Regions from separate parts of the Homo sapiens genome. Here regions 1 and 3 are each linked to region 2. The links are contacts of gene promoters, found by promoter capture Hi-C in blood cells and fetal thymus (Javierre and others, 2016). All regions are on one chromosome and are shown on one strand. The core of a region is centred on a gene start or on the middle of the fragment in contact, and the rest is flanking DNA. Distances in the headings are between cores, read along the strand shown. Region 1 overlaps SS18L1 (SS18L1 subunit of BAF chromatin remodeling complex). Region 2 holds the start of LAMA5 (laminin subunit alpha 5). Region 3 overlaps MTG2 (mitochondrial ribosome associated GTPase 2).

Evidence for each region. Contacts are between HindIII fragments. The CHiCAGO score rates a contact against its expected background, and 5 or more counts as called.
Region 1: a fragment that was not itself captured here is called in contact with the fragment with the promoter of LAMA5 in region 2 in 1 of 17 cell types (erythroblasts); the score reaches 5.5 in erythroblasts.
Region 3: a contact is called between a fragment that was not itself captured here and the fragment with the promoter of LAMA5 in region 2, in 4 of 17 cell types (endothelial precursors, megakaryocytes, M2 macrophages and 1 more). The highest score is 7.5, in endothelial precursors.

What each region holds. Positions count from the first base shown.
Region 1 is chr20:62,176,246-62,180,377 of GRCh38, reverse strand. SS18L1 (SS18L1 subunit of BAF chromatin remodeling complex) reads right to left here. Exons shown (of 11, transcript NM_198935.3): 11 at 1-1,196. The coding sequence ends at 1,170. Among named protein-coding and RNA genes, the nearest start is that of MTG2, 4.7 kb to the left of the region's middle. The HindIII fragment of the contact is 7,143 bases long and covers 1-4,132 here.
Region 2 is chr20:62,365,500-62,369,889 of GRCh38, reverse strand. It overlaps LAMA5 (laminin subunit alpha 5), which reads left to right and starts at 2,578. Exons shown (of 80, transcript NM_005560.6): 1 at 2,578-2,941. The coding sequence starts at 2,645. RefSeq lists enhancers at 276-975, 3,074-3,773 and a silencer at 2,455-2,894. The HindIII fragment of the contact is 18,996 bases long and covers 1-4,390 here.
Region 3 is chr20:62,199,185-62,203,645 of GRCh38, reverse strand. MTG2 (mitochondrial ribosome associated GTPase 2) reads right to left here. Exons shown (of 7, transcript NM_015666.4): 6 at 4,389-4,461; 7 at 78-2,963. The coding sequence ends at 2,569. Among named protein-coding and RNA genes, the nearest start is that of MTG2, 18 kb to the right of the region's middle. The HindIII fragment of the contact is 2,804 bases long and covers 651-3,454 here.

The DNA.
Region 1 (4,132 bases), core at 910-3,409, 190 kb after region 2:
TTGACCATACTTTTGCAAGTGTGCTGTCTTTAATGTTCACACAGAATTTAAATGGGATTTAATGTCTTAGAAATGTAAAAATTACTCAAGTTTCTCTATATAAAACCTTTACTTTTCATTAGAAAGAACACAGTAATGTAACTGGATGTGACTTTCAGACATCCCTAAAAGAAAAGAAATGCTTGCTTGGAGATCTGAGCAAGTAGGTCCTGGAAGAAATAATATAAAATAAACAACTTGCCAACTGTTGGGAAGATTTGGTTTGAATATTTAAAATTACCTATCAACTTAGAATTGGGCTTATTAAATATTCCAATCCCAGAAATGACCATCAGCTAAACAAGGGTCAAAGCCAGAGTAATCTCTGAGGGCCCACTTCCCAGAGAGCTGCCCCTTTCCTTCAGCAATACCGCTGGCCCTGGGTTAGGCAATTTGTCCACGGCCCTTAGGGATTCATATTTATTTGGAATACAGTCACTGATCCCTGTTTACTTTTTAATACAAAAACATGTACCTTTTTGGATAAACGGAATTGGCGAGAGACAGGCAATGGGCAAGCTCTGGAAGTGGCCATCTGTGGCCTCTCCCGTGGGAGATGTTTATCCTTTTCGTTACGTAACAGAAACTGACCCAACGCACAGAAGATGCCCTCCCACCCACCCCATCGAGGCACAGGAAGAGGCTGCCCTCCAGGGGCTGCATGTGTGTCCAGCTGTGGCGTAGCCAGTTAAAGAAAAGTTGACAACCCACACTACAACACTGCATGAGGAGGAAAATGAGACCTAACGTCTGTTGACGGGAACAGGTGGACTGTGGTGTCCTCGAGATCTGTCCTGTCCCTGGGCACAGAATGCTCTGATGACAAAATGACCCCCAAAGCTAGCTAGAAACATTGAGAAGGGGGCGGGGGACAAAAAAAGGATACCTCTCCGTGTACCGACATACAATACTATACACAGCACCAAAAGTATCACACCACCAAGCGCTGTCTCACGCCAGTGGTGTGCGCTCGGCGTCATACCCAGCATGAAATGAGCACGCTTCACATGCAGACGTGGCACTGGGCGAACAGGTAACCAACATGTCACAATTCACCAGAGCTGCCGCCAGCCCATCCGGCCCCTGGATGAACACGCTACCACAAGGGCTCCAGCCAGAATGTGTGTCCCTTACTGCTGGTAATTTCCATACTGGCCCTAAAAGAGATCAAGACACAGATTACACCCCTATAGTAATGAGTGAAAGGAAGACAGACGTCCACCCCAGCCCGGACAGGGGGTAGGAGGGACAACAGCAAGCAAACAACCTCTGCTCACATCTCTGCGGGGCAGCGAACGACTTTCCAGAAGCCACTGGCCAAGCCTGGGGCTAACAACGTAGACAGGGCCAAAGGTTCATTTGTTCAGTCACACACTGGCATCGCTGCGGCCGGGCCTGTGCCAGGCCTGGCATCAGAGCCTTATGCTGGGCCTGCTATGCAGGAAGGCTCTCCTCCAAGCTGGCCCCACTGGGAGCCAATGCAAACACCATCTGCCCCCGAGCCTGCTACAGTAAGAAAATGGGAGCGGGGACGACCAGGGTGATGGGTTTCAATCTATAAAAAAAAATCTAAAGACCCAGGCTGGGCAACATGGCCAGACTCCATCTCTACAAAAATCCAAATATTAGCTGGGTGTGGTGGCGTGTGCCAATAGTCCCAGATACTTGGAGGGTGAGGTGGGAGGATCGCTTGAGCCCAGGAGGTCAAGGCTGCAGTGAGCCGTGATTGCACCACTGCACTCTAGTCTGGGTGAGACCCTGTTTCAAAAACAAATCTGAATTTGGGAGGCCGAGGCAGGAGGACTGCTTGAGCCCAGGAGTTTGAGACCAGCCTGGGCAGTACAGCAAGACCCCATCTCTACAAAAAAAGAGAAAAAATTAGCCTCGGCCAGGCACAGTGGCTCACGCCTGCAATCCCAGCACTTTGGGAGGCCGAGGTGGGTGGATCATTTGAGGTCAGGAGTTCAAGACCAGCCTGGCCAACATGGTGAAACCCCATCTCTACTAAAAATACAAAAAAAAAAATTAGCCAGGTGGTAGTGGCACGTGCCTGTAATCCCAGCTACTTGGGAGGCTGAGGCAGGAGAATCACTGGGCCTGAGAGGTGGAGGTTGCAGTGAACCGAGATCATGCCACTGTATTCCAGTGTGGGTGACAGAGTGAGACCTTGTCTCAAAAAAAAAAAAAAAAAAAAAAAGAATAAGCCACATGTTGTGGCGCATGCCCCGGAGGTTGAGGCTGCGGTGAGCCATGTTCCTGCCAATGCACTCCAGCCTGGGCGACAGAGTGAGACCCTGTCTTAAAAAAAAAAAAAAAAAAAAAGGCCAGGCACAGTGGCTCATGCCTGTAGGATTACAGTCCCAGCACTTTGGAAGGATCACCTGAGGTCAGGAGCTCGAGACCACCCTGGCCAACATGGCGAAACCCTGTCTCTACTAAAAATACAAAAATTAGCCAGGTGTGATAGTACGTGCTTGTAATCCCAGCTACTCCGGATGCTGAGGCAGGAGAATTGCTAGAACCCGAGAGGCAGAGGCTGCAGTGAGCGAGATCGTGCCACTGCACTCCAGCCTGGGCAACAGAGCAAGACTCCATCTCAAAAACAACAACAAAAAACAACATGAAGAAGAGAAACTAGAGAGCCTGTGCCCCACAAGGCCACAAGGCAGAATTCCTTGGGCAGCAAAACGGAGCATCGGACCTGTGGTGAAAGCCACTCGGGAGACTGCCACAGGGGAAGACAACGGATCATCATCTGCATGCCTGTTCTCCATGTGTCCCCAGCTAGTTAATGATCAGATTTCCCGAATGCCCCCAGCGAGGAAGTGGGGGAGGGAGGAAAGCTGTTCCAGCCTGACCGAACACGTCACATTCTCATTCCCAGAGCTGCCTGTGATGATTCTAGTTAGTGGGAGTCTGTTCTGATGTCTTTCTGCTCCTGCACCATTGGGTAAGACGGAAAGCCTCAAATCCAGAGCTGCTCAGCTGAAGGCATGGCAGCCCTGGAGCCCTATAAAACCACTGGCAGCCCCAATGCCTCAGCACCTTTTTTTTTTTTTTGAGACAGAGTTTCGCTCTTGTTGCCCATGCTGGAATACAATGGCGCGATCTCAGCTCACTGCAACCTCCGTCTCTATCTGCTCCCGCCCGCCTCTGCTTTCCAAAGTGCTATAGGCGTGAGCCACAGCGCCTGGCCGCCTCAGCACATGTTTAAGTGTAGCCCAGTGGTTCTCAAACGGAGACAGTTTTGCCCCTGGGGCATCTGACAATGTCTGGAGTCATTTTAAATTGTCAGACTGGGCAATGGGGGTGCTACTGGCATCGTGGTGGAGGCCAGGGGTGCTGCAAACATAACACAGTGTGCACAATGGCCCCTAGGAGACGCCCAGCGCCGGCAGTGCTGTGCCAAAGCGCCACGGCCAGCTACACTGGATGCTGACTAAAGGCTATCTTAATATTTTGCAGTTAGATGGACACATTTCCCCCCAGATGTGAAATTCTATTCTCTATCTTCCCCATTGCTCTGTGTCTTTTTCTTTTTTTTGAGATGGAGTCTCTCTGTCGCCCAGGCTGGGGTGCAGTGGCGTGATCTCAACTCACCTCTGCCTTCCCGGTTCAAGCGATTCTCCCACCTCAGCTTCCCCAATAGCTGGGCTTACAGGCACCCGGCTAATTTTTGTATTTTTAGCAGAGATGGGGTTTCACCATGTTGGCCAGGCTGCTCTCCAACTCCTGACTGCAGGTGATCTACCCGCCTCAGCCTCCCAAAGTGCTGGAATTACAGGTGTAAGCCCCCACGCCTGGCCTTTCTTTTTCCTTTTTTTAAGACAAAGTCTCGCTCTCTGTAGCCCAGGCTGGAGTGTAATGGTGCAATCACGACTCACTACAGCCTCGACCTCCTGGGCTCAAGGGATCCTCGTGCCTCAGCCTTCCAAGTAGCTGGGATTACAGGCATGCACCACCATGCCTGACTACTTTATTTTTTGTAGAGACAGGTCTTGCTATGTTACCCTGGCTGGTCTCAAACTCCTGGGCTCTAGTGATCCTCCTGCCTTGGCCTCCCAAAGTGCTGGGATTACAGGCATGGGCCACC
Region 2 (4,390 bases), core at 1,329-3,828:
GCTGGGTGGGCAGGGGCTCTGGATCTTGGATTGTCCCTGGAGGGCAGCCAGAGCCTGGTGGGACAGAGGCTCCTCCACGGCCCTCCCCTGGCGAGCCACCTCCTTTTACCCTCCCCTCCACTCCCAGACTGGGCAGCTCCCTCCTGTGGATTCAGGACAGGACGTGTTTGGGGGTGGGGTGCCGTCTGACCTGTTGCAGGGAGGAGGACTACGTCACGGGCGGGTGCCCGAAAGATGCCCAGTAAATAGGAGTAAGAAATGAATGATGGACAAACTTCCTCTTGCTTTACTAACTTGTGTGCTCTTGATTGACCCTGGCCTTTTTGGCCTCAGTTTCCCCATTTGTAAATAGAAGAGGTGGCTGGGCTGCGCAGGACTCAGAAAGACAAGGAGACAGGCTCGCTGGTCCATTTGGTGATGACTCACTGGAACCATGACAAAGACAGCAGGGGTGGGGGTGTGCAGAGATGAGCTGCCCCTCTCCCTGCTCACCTCCCCAACCCCCTGTGTGTAGCCCGGCTGGGACAGCCCCCCCGCCCTCCATACGCTCAGCTCCTGCCCCAGCTGCCTCCTTCCCAGTCCGTGCACCAGCAGACACAGGGTGGGGGCAGAGTGTGGGCTCTTTACCCAGCCCCTGGGCCACATTCTCTTGTCCACTGCGCTGCCCGCCTGCCTGCCAGTTGCTCCCGGGGCAGCTGTCTGCCGGGAAGCAGTGAGCCCGGTGATTAACCCTGCTGGTGCTGGCAGCTCCGGCTGACACAGCGCATTCTCAGGGCCGGCCCCCGCTCCCCTCCTGGCCAGTGCCGGGGGACAGCGGAGGCCTGGCAGCTTGGCCTGATCTGGCCGCTAGGAGGCTTAAAGTGCTCTCCCCACCCCCACCTCTCCCCCTGCCCCGCCACTCGCAATCCCACCCCTCCAACCACCCGACCCTCCAGGGATCCCAAGAAGCCCTCAGGGTCTCAGGAGTCTCCACCTCCAGTCCCCCAGGCTGTCAGAGCCCCAAGCTGTCAAGGGGGAGCCCAGAGCCAGAGCACACTGCCTGGGGCCAAGCCCCCACCTGGGGACCCGCTACTGCCCAGAGGCCACTCTCTGCCTCACACGGGATCTAAAGCAGCTCAGAGCCGGACTCTGCGCCTGGACTGCAGATTCCTTGATGTCTCCGCCCCCTCTCCAGCCAGCCCCTCCCCCACTTGGAGCTTCTCCTGCCAAGGGGAGCCGCCTCCTCTCCCCCCTCCCCCAGGTGGGAGAACTAATAGTGAAGTTATGGAAGAATTGCCGGGCCGGAAAGTAGGAGGAGGGAGAGAGGGTCCCATCGCCCTCCCGACTCCGTAGAGAAAGGGCCATACACCCTCTTGGGATTTGAGATTTGCAGGAGGCCAGGGCGCCAGGAAGGTGTGCAAGGAGGTGCACCCTCCAGGGACAGCTGCTAGCTCAGAACCCCCACCAGAACCGGCTGGCCAGTGCCCCACAAACCCACCCAGCCCCCCGGGACTGTCCAGGGAACCCAGCGAGAGATGAGCCCCACAGCCCATCTGGGACCATGGCCCGCCCAGCTGGCCTGGCTCAGGGATGGGGGTTTGCTGCCAGCTCGGCAGCTGCAGCCCCACCCCGCCGCCACCCCCTCGGGGCTTCCCTGGAGGCAGATTTGGCCCCGGAGCCCAAGGGAAGTAGGAGACCCAGGGCCGCAGCCACCCAAAGGCAGACGAAGACCTGATCTCGGCCTCTAGGTCCTGTGCTGTTTGCCAGGCGTCCTCGAGCCGCCGATCGTGGCAGGAACGCGTGCGCGGCTGTGCAGCGGGTTGGAGGCCAGGCCGAGAGAGCTGGTGGAGTCCACCGGGCCCCGGAGCACAGGTGCTTCCAGGCACCCAGCAGGTGCTCAGCAGCTGTGACCAGAGCCCCCGACCTCCTTAAGAGCCAATTTGGCGGCTGTGGGGCCATGAGCACCGCCCCCGTCCTCTAAAGGGGGCTGCAGCTGCAGGCCAGTCCCTCCTGCCCCTATTTCCCTATCTGAGAGTATTTTTAAGCCCTGCTGGGGCAGGCGGGAGCCAGGCCGAGTTGAACCTGACCTGGCTGCCCCAGGAAGCAGGGGGTTCCCACCTAGGCTGCCCCGTTCCTCTGCAGATGGTCATTCGCGGGTGCAGAGGGCACCTTCCCGCAGCCAGCAGGACGGACGCTGTTGGGGGAGGAGCGGGGGCAGCCGAGTGGTGCACCCAAGTTAGGGGAACAAAGAGTGGGCCCCTGGGCTGGGAGGAGCTGGTGGGCGCTCTGGGGGCCAGGGCGTCGTGGGGAGCGCTAGGGTCCCACCCGGGACCCGGAGCTACGACCTGGGCTGGGGGCCCGGCGGCGCCGTCGTCCCACGGCCTGGCCCGAGGCCAGCAGGTGCCCCTTCCGGGAGGCGGCCGGGCCGGGGTCCGAAGGGTTAAGGCCGCCCGGCCGCCCCTCCCCCTCCTCTCTCCTTCCCCCCCCCACCCCGCCTCCCCGGACCTCTCCCCGGGGCTCGGGGCTCGGGCGCTCGGGCGGGCCGGGGCGGGGCCTGACGTCCGCGGGCGGAGCGAGCCCTGCCGGCCGCCTGGCTTCAGACCCGCCGGGCTCCCGCCGCGCGCGCTGTCCCTGGAGCTCGGGGACGCGGCCCGGAGCCGGGAAGATGGCGAAGCGGCTCTGCGCGGGGAGCGCACTGTGTGTTCGCGGCCCCCGGGGCCCCGCGCCGCTGCTGCTGGTCGGGCTGGCGCTGCTGGGCGCGGCGCGGGCGCGGGAGGAGGCGGGCGGCGGCTTCAGCCTGCACCCGCCCTACTTCAACCTGGCCGAGGGCGCCCGCATCGCCGCCTCCGCGACCTGCGGAGAGGAGGCCCCGGCGCGCGGCTCCCCGCGCCCCACCGAGGACCTTTACTGCAAGCTGGTAGGGGGCCCCGTGGCCGGCGGCGACCCCAACCAGACCATCCGGGTGAGCGCAGGGGCGGGCCGTGGGGCTTCCTCCCGGGGCACTCGGACCCGGAACACCGGCCCGACCCCAGGGGGAGCGCCGTGGCCCGGGGCGAGTCCAGGTGCGGACTCTCTGGTTCCGCATTTTGGGGGCCCAAGAAGGCACCCCGACCCGGCCGCTCCGTCTCGGCCGGGAAACTTCGCGTCCCTCCGGGAAGGCGGAATTAAAGTCCCCGGCATGGACCCGGGGGCGGCTGGGCGCCGGTCCAGTTCGACTGCGGTGACCGGGGCGGGAGGGGGGCCGGGCCCAGTCCCTGGCGGCCCCAAGTCCGGGATCCCGGGGAGGGCGGGACTTGGCCTCCGCCGCCTGCTGCCGGTGGGGAGGGGGCGCAGCTCCGCCCTACCCGGGACAGGCTGGAACCTGTTGGCCTCTGGATGGGGTGGGAGGGGCCAGCCACCTGAGGCTCCCACTAGCCCCTCTCGGAGGAGTCTAGGGACTCGAGGAGACCTCCAAAGTAGGGGAGGGCCAGCTGCGAAGTTTTGACTGGGGCTGGGAACACGTGGCTCCCAGGAGGGGCAGCATCTCTGCCCAGCAGGTGGTAGGGTCCGGGGGCTTCAGTCTCCCTGGGAGATGTGGGTTCAGGCCCTGAAGACCCCCTGGGGTGCATGTCCCCTCCCCAACAAGCCTTAAACCTGTAGGCGGGTTCTGTTGGTGGACTCCATGCATGGACACCTCACCTGAAAACCAAGGCTCTTGGGGCCCTGTAGACTTAGGTTGGGCCTGGGGTCAGCCTTGGGTGAGGAGCAGCAAAGTCAGCTCCAACGGCTCCCAACCGGCCGCTCTAGGCCCATTCCCCACCTCAGCCCCACCTTAGGGAGAGTCTAGGGGCCCTGAGGGCCTGTGTAACCTGAGCTGTCTCCTCCCTGGTACCTCTGCCTTCCCGGAAGGAGAGGCTGGGGCAGGGGCGAGTAGCTGGAGATTTGCTGGGTGGGGGCAGAGGGCCCTGGAGCAAGACGTTATGGGGATGAATGGAGGAGCCTGGGCTGGGCCCGCCCCCTCTGCCTGCCCCACCCCCTTGGCCCTGGTGGAGGGGGAAGGAGCCTCCCCAGGCTTCTGGGCTCACCGTTCTCTCCTTAAGCCCAGCACAGTCCTCTGAGATAGGAGGTCTCAAGCCCACACTTCAGATGGGGGATCTGAGCCCTGGAAAGCTGCTGACACCTGCTTGGAGCCCCCCAGCCAGAACAGGGTCCAGCGGGGGTTAGCTGTGGGAACCTGGGTGCCTCCTGGCTGCCCCCTTATCTGGTCAACTCAGAGGGGCCGGGTCTCAGGACGGAGGGCCTGTGACTGTCTCCTTACCTGCTGCCACACCTCACCACAGAGGGCCTGGCTGAGTGTCCCCAGCTGAGATTTTGCCGTTCTGGCAGGGGAGGCTCCAGGTGCCCTGTGAACCTCAGACCACCCCCCCACAGC
Region 3 (4,461 bases), core at 803-3,302, 170 kb after region 2:
TCGGGGTGATGAAAACGTTCTGGAATTTGCAGTTTGACAGTTGCACAACCTTCTGAACATACAAAAAAACCACTGAATTATATAAAGTGGTGAATTTTATGGTATGTGAATCATATATCCCATTTGAAAAGCAGACTGACAAAAATTTGTTTCTAGGCAGGAAACAGGAAACTGGGGAAGCCAAGTGTAGCTTTACCCTACTCAGGGAGAACAGTGTTGGAGAGAAAGCTGTCAGCTTTTAGAACGCGATGGCAAAAGCTGTGTGTGTGGCAGGGAGAAGTCTTGGGGCTTTTTGCAGCAAGGAAAGTTCTGGGCAACCTTCGTGGCAGTGACTCCCCCTCTGGAGCCTCAGCTTCAGCAAAGGACGAGGGCATGTCCCCAGAGCAGCCACAGTCAGGCCCAGATCAAGGTTTCAACCCACGGGGAGGCTGGGCTGGGGGCTCCGTGCAGGGGTCGAGCCACAAGGCATCTTGAGCCTCCCCTGCAAGAGCATCAAGATGAAAGCCAGGGATAATTAACGCCGTCAGGCCTGGGGCGACTCCACAAAATCCTTTGTGGCGGCCTGAAAGAAAAAGCAAATAGATGCAAAACCCATCTCTGGTTTCTAGGATAGAAGGACCTTTGAAATTATAAGACATTAAAATAAAGCTTCGGGTAAAAGGACTGTCATGTTCTAGCTGCAGATTTGATGTGAGATCAAAACGGAATTGCTCCTGAAAGCCCAGGCACCGGCCTGCTGTGCAAAGCGCGCCCCACCCCAGCGTGCAGAGACGCGGCCCCGGACCCTTGCGGCTCATCTCACCTGAGGCTGCCGTCTCTCCTCCAAGGGCTGGGGGTCCCCTTCTGATCATCCTTCTCTGCTTCTTTGTCCCCTCCACTTTTTTTTTTTTTTTGAGATGGAGTCTTGCTCTGTCGCTCAGGCTGGAGTGCAGTGGTGTGATCTCGGCTCACTGCAAGCTCCGCCTCCCAGGTTCACGCCATTCTCCTGCTTCAGCCTCCCGAGTAGCTGGGACTACAGGTGACCGCCACCACGCCTGGCTAATTTTTTTGTATTTTTAGTAGAGACGGGGTTTCACTGTGTTAGCCAGGATGGTCTCAATCTCCTGACCTTGTGATCCACCAGCCTCGGCCTCCCAAAGTGCTGGGACTACAGGCATGAGCCACCGTGCCCAGAATGTTCTGTTTTTGTTTGTTTGTTTGTTTGTTTTTTGAGACAGGGTCTCGCTCTGTCACTCAGGCTGGAGTGCAGTGGTGCAATCACGGCTCACTGCAGCCTTGACCTCCCAGGCTCACATGATCCTCCCACGACAGCCTCTGGAGTGTCCCCTCCACTTTCTTTCTTAGGGGCCCCTCAGGGACATGTCAGAGGCCTGAGACTACTTGGGGGATGTCTATGGGCCAGGCAGGCTGCCAGCAGCTGAGCTGTCCTTGCCCTGGGGCTCCTCTGCAGTCAGGGAGACACCAGGCATGGGCCTGGCTTGGATGCATCAGTACTTGACTGCAAAGACTTAAACCACAGACAGGAAAGGCGCTGCTGCAGTCTCGACGGTCAAATGCAGGGCCCCCTCAGCTGCCATCCCACTGAGGGGCGAAGGCCCATCATCTCCCTTCGGCTCGGTAACTGCCTGGCGTAGCACAAGGGTTCTCTTTAAATCCCCAGCAAATGGAGCTGAGTGGAAATTCCGCCCCATATTACCAGGCACACGTCTCCTTCCACTCCTCACTATACCCTGCCCATGCCACGGCCGCCTTCTGAGAATAACGCTGACAGTTCCATGGCCCACAGCCCCTCTAGTTAACTTGCTGTGCACACGGCAGCCCAGCCAGAAACACGCAGCCAGGTCGGATATTGGGTGCATTCAGTCGTGAAGCCTGAGGCTTCCTGGCTCCCACTGAGCACAGAGAAGTGTTCTGAAGGACAGGAAGCAGCTGGCCTCACTGCTCTTCTCAGACGGCTGATGGAGAAAAGCTCACAGCTGCCTGCGCCGCTCTGCCTGGACTTGCATCCTCGGCCCCACCCCTTGCGCAGCAGTGAGGCCCCCCGAGACACTGGTGCCTGGGCTTGCGGTACCGCAGGGCTGCTGGACAACGGGCCAGACGCAGCCCCAGTGTGGATCCAGAGGTCTCTCTCCGTAGCAAGCCATGGAAGCACGACGGGCACTGTGCTGAGAACCCTGGTCTGCACTTCTGACCTGGGGCTCTGGCTGTGCGGTTCTGCTGAGCTCATCCGAGAGTCCACGCGTGCATGGCGGAGACCTGAGTCAGCGGCAGGGCCACCCCGTTATGGGCACCCCAACCCCTTATTAGGGGTGTTAATCAGCACAAATGAGCAACTGGCTCATCAGTCGGTGCAGGCTGACAGGTGCAGGAAATACGGAGGGCAGGCGGGGTAGGGGGCACGGAATGCTTCCCAACATGAGGGCATCTCAGGCCAGCAGGCGGGGCCCAGAGACCCAGAAGCACCACAACTCCCCCGTGTCCACAAGGCACTTTATGCATTCAAAACCACCGAATTCACACCCAGGTTTGCTCAGACAGAGGCCCAGAGGCGACCCCGCTCTGGCGTGGCTACCACCTGAGCGGCTGGCGGCCCTGGCCCAGCTCGGCCTCCGCGTAGGCGTCATACAGCACCTTCAGGTGCAACAGCAGCTGCTCCAGGTTCTCGCCGGTCAACGCCGACAGCACGATGACCTCCTGTCCCAAGTGATCCCGGAGCTGGGACAGATTGGCTTGGGCTTCAGGGAGGTCAATCTTGTTTGCGACGATTGCGTGGGGCCTCGCAGACAGGCCCTTTTCATACATCTCCAGTTCATATTTTAAATCGTCAACTTGAGTCCACGGCTCAGGCTGAGAAAGATCCACCACGAACAAGAGAAAGCGGCAGCGCTCGATGTGCCTGAGGAAGGCGGACCCCAGACCCCTGTTCTGGTGGGCGCCTCGTATGATGCCGGGGATGTCGGCCACTGCAGGGAAGACAGGGGCACACGAGGTGACCACTTGGCACACCCAGCACCCAAGAGCGCCTTCCACCTCGAGCCTGGGAGAGAAGGCCTGGAGCCCACTGCGAAGGCGGATTTCCTGAGTTCTAACACTTTCCTTTCAAGGAACGCCTTGAACTGAAGCCATTTGATTTAGCACCTGGGTGATTCACTGGGCCAACTGACACCTGAGGAATTCAATGCTTGGAGATGTTTGGGAGACCAGCGTGGCGATGGATCTATCTAGTAGAGTACATTTCATACCTTCTCTTTCTGCTTCTAATAGGATTCAAAAAAGAGGAAAATGGCTGCCTGTACTCTACTAATCATTTGATTACTGATAGAAATTTACATGTAGAGTACTCTGCAGATATAAAGTGCCATCCAAATAACCTTACCAGCAGGCTTACTATTTTTAATGGGTGTATTGTCTTCTGGGAAAAAGTTTTATTCTCTCAAACGGCACAAGGAAAGCTTTTAAGTCACGTGTTGTGATGCTGCTGAGCTTCCACAGATGAGAGGGGACAAATAGAGTGGGAAGAAATACTGTCCTCGGCTGGAATTTCAATGCAGGTTTCTGAACTGTAACTGACAGATTCCTAGGGGATGGGGTGGGAACCTGATTTTCATAGAGAACAGGCTGATGAAAATTGTTTAAATTAGGGCCAGGTGCAGTAGCTCACGCCTGTAATCCCAACACTTTGGGAGACCAAGGTGGGGCGGGGGGCAGATCACTTGAGATCAGGAGTTCGAGACCAGCCTGGCCAACATGGTGAAACCCCGTCTCTACTAAAAATACAAAAAAATTAACTGGGCGTGGTGGCGCACGCCTGTAATCCCAGCTACTTGGGAGGCTGAGGCAGGAGAATCACTTAAATATGGGAGGTGGAGGTTGCAGTGAGCTGAGATCGCACCACTGCACTCCAGCCAGGGTGACAGAGTGAGACTCCGTCTCAAAAAAAAAAAAAAAAAAAAGTTGTTTACATTAGGAAAAACAATGCTACTTTTTTTTTTTTTTTTTTGAGATGGAGTTTCGCTCTGTCGCCCAGGCTGGAGTGCAGTGGCATGATCTCGGCTCACTGCAAGCTTTGCCTTCTGGGTTCATGCCATTCTCCATCCTCAGCCTCCCAAGTAGCTGGGACTACAGGTGCCCGCCACCACACCCAGCTAATTTTTTTGTATTTTTAGTAGAGACGGGGTTTCACCATGTTAGCCAGGATGGTGTCGATCTCCTGACCTCGTGATCCGCCTGCCTCGGCCTCCCAAAGTGCTGGGGTTACAGGTGTGAGCCACCACGCCTGGCCAACAATGCTACATTTTAAACAGAAAGCTAAATTTAAGAGTTACATCATTACTTTTCTGAATTACATCATTTAAATCTAACCTTTGGGAGAATTCTGGAAGTTCTACCTGCTATTTGTAGGTGGCCTTCGTAGTGGACGATCCCGACGTGGGGCTTCAGGGTGGTGAACGGGTAGGAAGC